Regions from separate parts of the Homo sapiens genome. Here all the other regions are linked to region 2. The links are contacts of gene promoters, found by promoter capture Hi-C in human tissues and cell types (Jung and others, 2019). All regions are on one chromosome and are shown on one strand. Each heading gives the region's core, a stretch centred on a gene start or on the middle of the fragment in contact. The rest is flanking DNA. Distances are from core to core; before and after follow the strand shown.

Region 1 (2,700 bases), core at 71-2,570, 250 kb before region 2:
TGCTTCCCTCAGCCCTGAAGGGTGGGGACAAGGGTGGAATGGAAGGTGCCTGTCATAGCAGCCAGCTGCCACCAGAACACAGTAATGACCCAGCAGCCCCTGCACGTTAGCCCAATCATCTGGGACAGGGGAGCAAAAACGGGTTGTTTACCACCACCACAGCTGAGAGGGGCACCAGACCCCGGAGAGGTGCTACAGTCAGCTGCCTATCCACCCTGCTTACAGGGAGAGGATTCTCCAGCCAAGAACAGTCCTGGAGGAAGAAGAATGTGGGGGCTGAGCTAGGAGCTAGCCTTTGCAGAAGCAGCCCCAGACCCCAGATTCCCAGCCACCTCAGATTCCCCAGCCATATTGTAAGAACAAGCAAACAGACATCCAGAGACCAGGTCCTTTGCCCCAAATGCTGTGAGATGTAGCTGGCAGGCGGCAACAAGAAGTCAAGAAAGGGGGAAAGAGCATATTCCAGACGTGAAAGCAGACTTGGAAGTGCCAGTCCATGTACAACGCGTGGAGGCGTGTGGGCTATTTGAGAGCCACAAACAGAAAATGAATGCCTTAAGTCCAAAAAGTATGCCAGTACCAGGTATGTTGGCTCACACCTATAATCCTGGCACTTTGGGAAGCCGAGGCAGGGGGACTGCTTGGGTCCAGTAGTTCAAGACCAGCCTGGGCAACATAGCGAAACCCGGTCTCTACAAAAAAAAGTACAAAAATTAGCCAGGCATGGTGGCACATGCCCATAGTCCTAGCTGCTCAGGAGGCTGAGGTGGGAGGACTGCTTGAGCCCAGGAGATGGAGGCTACAGTGAGTCAAGATCACGTCACTGCACTCCATCCTGGGTGACAGAGTGAGACCCTGACTCAAAATAATAATAAAAAGGTACACCATAAAATGAGAGAATTCAGAAACAACTGAGAAGCACAACATGATGGAGAATCACAAGCTGAAGAACAACCTTAGTGTTACTCATCATAGACTATGCTGATAAAGAATATCCGTGGCTGGGCATGGTGGTTCACACCTGTAATCCCAGCACTGTGGGAGGCCAAGGCAGGCAGGTCACCTGAGGTCAGGCGTTCGAGGCCAGCCTGGCCAACATGGCAAAACCCCTCCTTTACTAAAAATACAAAAATTAGCGGGGCATGGTAGTGCATGCCTGTAATCCCAGGAGGCTGAGGCACCAGAATCACTTGAATCTGAGAGGTGGAGGCTGCAGTGAGCCAAGATCGTGCCAATGCACTCCAGCCTGGGCGACAAAGCAAGACTCTGTCTCAAAAAAAAAAAGAATATCTGCAACACATCTAGCAATGTATACCTGGAGAATATATGTGCTGCCTTTCACATTTTAAGACTCTACCAACACACAGGCTCTTGAAGGAAAATTTGCTATGATCAAAACTATAAATGCATATGCCTTTTAACCACTAATTCTATTTCTATGAATCTGTTCCATAGATTTGCCTGTCCGCATAACTTTACAAGGCTATTCATTAAAGCACTGTTTGTGAGAAGACAAGACTGGAAATAACCTAAATGTCCACCAGTGGGGAGAGGATTAAAGCAATTATGGCACAGGTCACATAATGGAATGGTAGACAACTGTAAGAAGACAATAAACGTATGCAGCTGTGTGTACACTATGCTACCTCAGTTAAGAAGAAAAAGGCAGGAAGGGGGAAGAGAGAACTAAGAGTCAACAGCGTCTGCCTGAATACAGATAAACCCTGGAAGACAGCACTACTTCCAGTGGTTACCTGGGAGGAGCTAGGTGGAGGGAGGCTCTCTCTACAGGTTTTGTCCTCTGAGTTTTCTGAGCCATGTGAATGAACTACTAGTTTAAGTAATTAAAGGAACTAATTTTTTTTTTTTTTGAGATGGAGTCTTGATCTGTCGCCCAGGCTGGAATGTAGTGGCGCGACCTCAGCTCACTGCAACCTCCACCTTCTGGGTTCAAGCAATTCTCCTGCCTCAGCCTCCTGAGTGGCTGGGACTACAGGTGCACGCCATCACACCCGGCTAATTTTTGTATTTTAGTAGAGACGGGGTTTCACCATGTTGGCCAGGACGGTCTCGATATCCTGACCTCATGATCCATCAACTCAGCCTTCCAAAGTGCAGGGATTACAGGCGTGAGCCCACCGCGCCCGGCCAAGAAACTGATTTTTTTTTAAGGCACCCCCACTGGGGATATACTGGCCCAGGTGATTAACTTCAGCACCAGGTGGTAACACCTGGAATGGTTCCCAGTGCTCCAGTTTCCAGTTAGGGTCCTTATGATTTGAGGATAAAATGTGAAATGGGTTCACTATTAGTTCAAAATATATTTAGTGTACAAATAAGCTTAAAAGGCTAGAAAAGAAAAGGGCACTTTAAAGAAGAACTTTTCGAAAGTATTTTTTTCTAAAGGGATGTGACAATCGACATGTAACATTTTGTACCCAACGCTCACACAGGGAAATCTGACATTATTTCAAAATACTCAAAAATTAGTTGGCTGTCATGTCTTGTGGCTTCTAGCAAATCAATGAAGAAACCTCTAATATAAAGATGATGTTAAAAATGGAGCTTGTGACAAAGCAAGTGATGATCAGACGCCACACTAAAACACAATCCATTTTCCTATCTCTGGATGGCGCCTCTTAGGGGTAATTTGTACTTTGTTCAAATAATTCTCATTAGAGGTCTAAAGGTTTTGCAACA
Region 2 (2,700 bases), core at 127-2,626:
GCGAAGCCGATGTAGAAGAGCGCATACCGGAACCGGCGCTGGGTCTGCGGGAAGCAGCGCTCCAGGCAGGCCTCCTCCAGGTTCACCGAGTCGAACTTGGGGTCCCACCAGCGGCTGGAGGCCCTCTCGAACAGCTGGGGCAGCTTCTTCTGCCTGCGCAGCCGGCCTCCGCCGCCCACTCGCCGGGGGACGCCCCCGGAGTCCCCAGAGCTGCTGCAGCTAGAGGAGATGCTGTATTTGCAGTGCTTGGGGTGGCTGTTGGAGGACAGCTGCTTGGGGTTGATCTTGACGCGCACGCTGTTGCTGTCCCCGCTGGAGTCGCAGCTCACCTCGGTGCTGTGGTGATGCAGCAGCTGCTGGTGGGGTGGGGAAGCCATGTTGTCGAGTCCCGGGGCCTGCCCCGGCCGGGGTCACCAGTACCTGCCAGCAAAACGGGGAGAGTTAGCGGCGCTCCCACCTAGGCATGCACGCCTAGAGGCCCGGGACCTGCTCCTGTCCTAAGGGGCGGCTCCAGCACGCGACCTGGACAGGCACCATCTGTTCCTGTGGTTCCCGGCTCAGCGGTGCTCCCACCGCCCCCACCGCCCCCACCTTCGAGGCGCACGAGAACCGCTCGGGACGGACCTAGAACGCCCGGGGGTCCCCGCCGCGTGGCCGCCGTGGCTCCGGGACCGCTTTGCTCGCTCGCCTTCCGCGCCTCTCGCCCCGAGGGTGGCCTCCGCGCCGCGCGGCTTCTCCTCCTCGCGCGCTCGCCTCCTCCAGCTGCGGCTCCGGAGGGAAGTTCAGACCTTGAGCGCTCCCAGCCCCGCGAGCCGCCTGCGCACAAACAACTCCGCTGGCGGCGCGGAGCCCTCCATCCTGCAGGAGCCGCGCTCCGATGCGTCAAAGGCGGCGCGCGGCCGGCCCCGGGCCCGGACCCCGACCCGGAGCAGCGAGCTTCGGCGGGCGCCCCCGGCTCGCGCTCCCCGGCCGCCCCCCGCGCTCCGGGCCGGCCCTGCCCGCGGCGGCGGGCGCTGGGGGTGGGGGCGCCCCGGGCTGCGAGTGCGCGGAGCCCGTCGGCGCGGCCCGTCTAGTGGGGCCTGCTTCCCCCCGAGTGCGCCGCCGCTCCCGCCGCGGCCGCAGCTGTCCCGGGACCGAGCGCGTGGAACCACGGACGCGGGCCCCTCGCCGGGCGGCGGTGCAGACGCTGCCGCAGAGCCGGGCTCCCGCGACGCCGGCCGGGACGCCCGCCCGCCCGCGCCCACGCCGGGGGCCGCCTCCCCGAGCTAGAGATGCGGCCGCCGCCGCGCCCGCCGCCGTGTCCCCCGCGGCCGCTGCCTCATGTCGGAAGAGCTGCCGCCGCCACCATCTCCGGCCCCTGCCCCGCCCGCTGTCACTGACAGACGCGCGCCCGCGCCGCCCCTCGCCCAGCCGCAGCGCGCACGCGCGGCCCGCGCTCGCCGCCACCGCCTCCTGGCCCCGGACACGCGCACGGGCCGCGCGCCGCCCCGCCTTGGTGCGCGCGCTGGGCTGGGGCTGCGGGGCGGGGCGGGGCGGGGCGGGGCGCGCGCTCGGCTCCGCCCCCCGCCCCGGGCGGCGCCGCTTCTAGGCGGCGGGCTGTGGCCGCTGTCCGCGCTCCGGGCGCTGTGGGCCCGCCCTCCCTCGGCGTCCCAGAGGCCGCGCGCCGCCCGGGGTCCCGACCCTGCGGAGAGACCTGAAGGCGCCTGCCGTGGAAGAAGCCGCTGGCCGCAACGTTTGGGAAATCAAAATGTTGCCTTCCCACTCGGCACGCCTTTGGGATAAATCGAAGTTTCCAACCGTTGGATTTCCCTCCCGGGAGGCTCCCCTTGCTCTGTAAGCAATGAATGCGGGCCCCGGGGCACTCGGCCTGCCCTGGACCTGCTCACGGGGCGACCTTCACGGGCCTAGCCTCCAAAGCTGGGCCCACCGACGACCACGTTCCCCCGCCCCAGGGGTAGTTTACCTTGCTGTCCTTGAGCCCTTCTCCCCCTCCTCATGAACTACTGCTTTTCCTTTTACACAAATGAGACTTTCAAAGGAGTCCGCGTCCCATAATGGCAGTTGTGCATTGGCCTCCATAAACATTGCCACGTGTAAATAAAATCCTATTCTCTCTAGCATGCAGATCCCGACCCCTTCTCCCCACACTCCACAGTGCCTCCTGCCAGTCACGGGGCTCTCTTCCATCCCCTCCCTCGCCTCCCAGGCCCAGCGCCGGGGCCCACACCAGGTCTCACTGTTGAATTAGAAAATAAAAGTAAAATGTGATCTGTCCATGCAATGGAATATTATTCGGCTACAAAAAGGAATGGAGCACCGATGCATGCTGCAGTGTGGAGGAACCCGGGAAACGTTATGCTAGTGAAAGAAGCCAAACAAAAAAGGCCACATAGCGTATGATTCCATCCAGATGAAATGTCTCGAATTGGCAAATCCGTAGAGGCGACACAGATTGGAGGTTGCCAGGTGCTAGGGGAGGAAGATAAGCAGCTTGGGGTTTCGTTTTAGGATGATGAAAAAGTCTAGAAATGATCCAACAGGATGAATCTACATACTGCCCTTGAATCATACACTTTAAAGTGGTTTAGGCCGGGAGCGGTGGCTCACGCCTGTAATCCCAGCACTTTGGGAGGCCGAGGTGGGCGGATCACCTGAGGTCGGGAGTTCGAGACCAGCCTGACCAACACGGAGAAACCCCAT
Region 3 (2,700 bases), core at 87-2,586, 180 kb after region 2:
AGGCAAGTCTGGGGAGGGGGCCTCACCTCCCTCCCAGCCCCTGGAGGGAGTGTTGGACCCTCTCACCCCCCTCAAAGCAGTTCCATTGCTCCCTTTGACCTTCAAAGTTGGCATCTGCTTGCAGGAATCTGTCTCTCTCCTCCTGGAATTCAGCCTCCAGATGTCAGATCCGAGGCGGTGGCGGCAGCATATGGCTCCCCTCAGAGTGAATCAGCCACATTCCAAAGGTGCACACACAGACGCCACACCCTCAGCAGCCTGGCTGCAGACTTCCTCCCAGCCCCAGCACCCGGCACCCGCCCCAGCCCCCACCTCTTCCCAGCCAGACCCGACTTCGGGCTTCCTTTCCAGAGACTTTCTCCTGGAACTGGAACAGAGAGAAAGCCACTAGGGCTGGAGACACCCTGAGCAGCCCTGCTCTGCTCACTCGCTCCCAACCGCTCACAGCTGTTATCAATATATCTATGGTGCATCCACTCAACAGGTGTGCACTGAGCACCTATGATGTGGCAGACAAGATACAGACAAGCCCCGAACCTCACGGAACTCAGCTGGGCAAGAGCCCAACAAAATCAGGTCCAGAGGCAGAAAAGAATTCCAAGTGTGGGAAGAGCTATAAAAGGAAGAAACAGGCCTGGCGCGGTGGCTCACGCCTGTAATCCCAGCACTTTGGGAGGCTAAGGCTGGCAGATCATGAGGTCAGGAGATGGAGACCACCCTGGCCAACATGGTGAAACCCCGTCTCTATTAAAAATACAAAAATTAGCTGGGTGTGGTGGTATGTGCCTGTAATCCCAGCAACTCGGGAGGCTGAGGCAGGAGAATCGCTTGAACCCAAGAGGCAGAGATTGCAGTGAGCCGAGATCACGCCATTGCACTCCAGCCTGGCGACAGAACAAGACTTCATTTCAAAAAAAAAAAAGGAAGAAACAAGGGCTCAGACACGTGACAAAGTGACAGAGGGAGGGTTATGGGGTGGGGGAGGCTTATCTTGGGGTAACTTGTAAGCTGAGGTCTGAAGGATGAATAGAAACGTCCTCTATCGGCTGGTCATGGGATTGCACACCTGTAACCCGGGAGCTCCGGGAGGCCCAGGCAGGAGGACTGCTTGAGTCCAGGAGTTCAAGACCAGCCTGGGCAATATAGCAAGATCCCATCTCTACTAAATTAAAAAAAAAATTTTTTTTAAAGAAACCTCTTCTATCCCGTCACTTCTGTAATCACTTCACGAGAATTACAGAAATATAACCCAAAAATATTTTCCCCAGTCACTCAGGAAGTTATTGGGTCCTCTTCTCCTGCCCCTCTTTTTTTTTTTTTTTTTTATCACTGAAGCAGGGAATCTGGCTAATTTTTTTAATAAGACCTTTGGTGAGGCCGGGTGCAGTGGCTCACACCTGTAATCCCAGCACTTTGGGAGGCCGAGGTGGGCGCATCACGAGGTCAGGAGATCGAGACCATCCTGGCTAACACGGTGAAACCCCGTCTCTACTAAAAATACAAAAAATTAGCCAGACATTGTGGCAGGCACCTGTAGTCCCAGCGACTCGGGAGGCTGAGGCTGAGGCAGGAGAATGTCCACCAACCTGGGAGGTGGAGCTTGTAGTGAGCCGAGATTGTGCCACTGCACTCCAGCCTGGGCGACAGAGCAAGATACCGTCTCAAAAAAAAAAAAAAAAAAAGAAAAAAAAAGACCTTTATTGAGATATAATCCATATAATTCACCACTTTACAATTACACCACAGTAGATGATTCAGTTGTTTTTAAATATCCACAGATCTGTGCATCTATAACTGCAATTTTGGAATATTTTCTTTTTCTTTTTTTTTCAAGACGGAGTCTCACTCTGTCACCCAGGCTGGAGTGCAGTGGCATGATCTCGGCTCACTGCAACCTCTGTCTCCCGGGTTCAAGCGATTCTCCCGCCTCAGCCTCCCAAGTAGCTGGGACTATAGGTGAGCACCACCGGGCCCAGCTAGATTTTTTTGTATTTTTAGTAGAGACGGAGTTTCATCACGTTGGCCAGGCTGGTCTCGAACCCCTAACCTCAAGTGATCCACGTGCCTTGGCCTCCTAAAAGTGCTTGGATTACAGGCATGAGCCACTGCAACTGACCAATTTTGGAATATTTTCATTAACCCAAAAAGAAACTCCACTTAGCAGTCACTCCCCGATGCTCACCACCACCCCAGGCCCCAGGCAACCCCTAAGCTACCCTATCTTTTTATTTATTTATTTTTAGAGACAGAGTCTCACTGTGTTGCCCAGGCTGGAGTTCAGTGGTTTGATCATAGCTCACTGTAGCCTCTACCTCTCAGGGTCAAGCAGTCCTCTCCTCTCAGTCTCCCGTGGAGCTGGGACTACAGGTGGGCGCCACCACACTCAGCTAACTTTATTTTTTTTTAGAGATAGGGGTCTCACTCTGTTGCCCAGGCTGGTCTTGAACTGCTGGTCTTGAACTCCTGGTCTCAAGTGATCCTCCTGCCCCAGCTTTCCAAACTGCTCATGCCTGTAGACGTAAGCCACTGCCCCTGGCCCTTAATCTACTTCCAGTCTCTATGGATTTGCCTATTCTGGAAATTTCATATGAACAGAAACACACAACATGCGTCCTGTGTGTCTGGCTTGTCACTGGGCATAATGCTTTCAAGGGTCATCCATGTTGTAGTATGTATTGGTGCTTCGTTTTTTTGTTTTGT

The links. Contacts are between HindIII fragments. The study calls those that stand out against the background at their distance.
Region 1: a fragment that was not itself captured here is called in contact with the fragment with the promoter of ADCY9 in region 2 in 1 of the 25 tissues and cell types used here (IMR-90 fibroblasts).
Region 3: a contact is called between a fragment that was not itself captured here and the fragment with the promoter of ADCY9 in region 2, in 1 of the 25 tissues and cell types used here (dorsolateral prefrontal cortex).

The regions. Positions count from the first base shown.
Region 1 is chr16:3,863,786-3,866,485 of GRCh38, forward strand. The region is part of intron 1 of CREBBP (CREB binding lysine acetyltransferase); the gene reads right to left. Among named protein-coding and RNA genes, the nearest start is that of CREBBP, 16 kb to the right of the region's middle. The HindIII fragment of the contact is 4,434 bases long and covers 1-2,700 here.
Region 2 is chr16:4,115,066-4,117,765 of GRCh38, forward strand. It overlaps ADCY9 (adenylate cyclase 9), which reads right to left and starts at 1,377. Exons shown (of 11, transcript NM_001116.4): 1 at 625-1,377; 2 at 1-420. The coding sequence starts at 377. RefSeq lists a silencer at 1,515-1,584. The HindIII fragment of the contact is 7,185 bases long and covers 1-2,700 here.
Region 3 is chr16:4,299,039-4,301,738 of GRCh38, forward strand. No RefSeq gene overlaps it. Among named protein-coding and RNA genes, the nearest start is that of GLIS2, 16 kb to the right of the region's middle. RefSeq lists a silencer at 70-364. The HindIII fragment of the contact is 8,673 bases long and covers 1-2,700 here.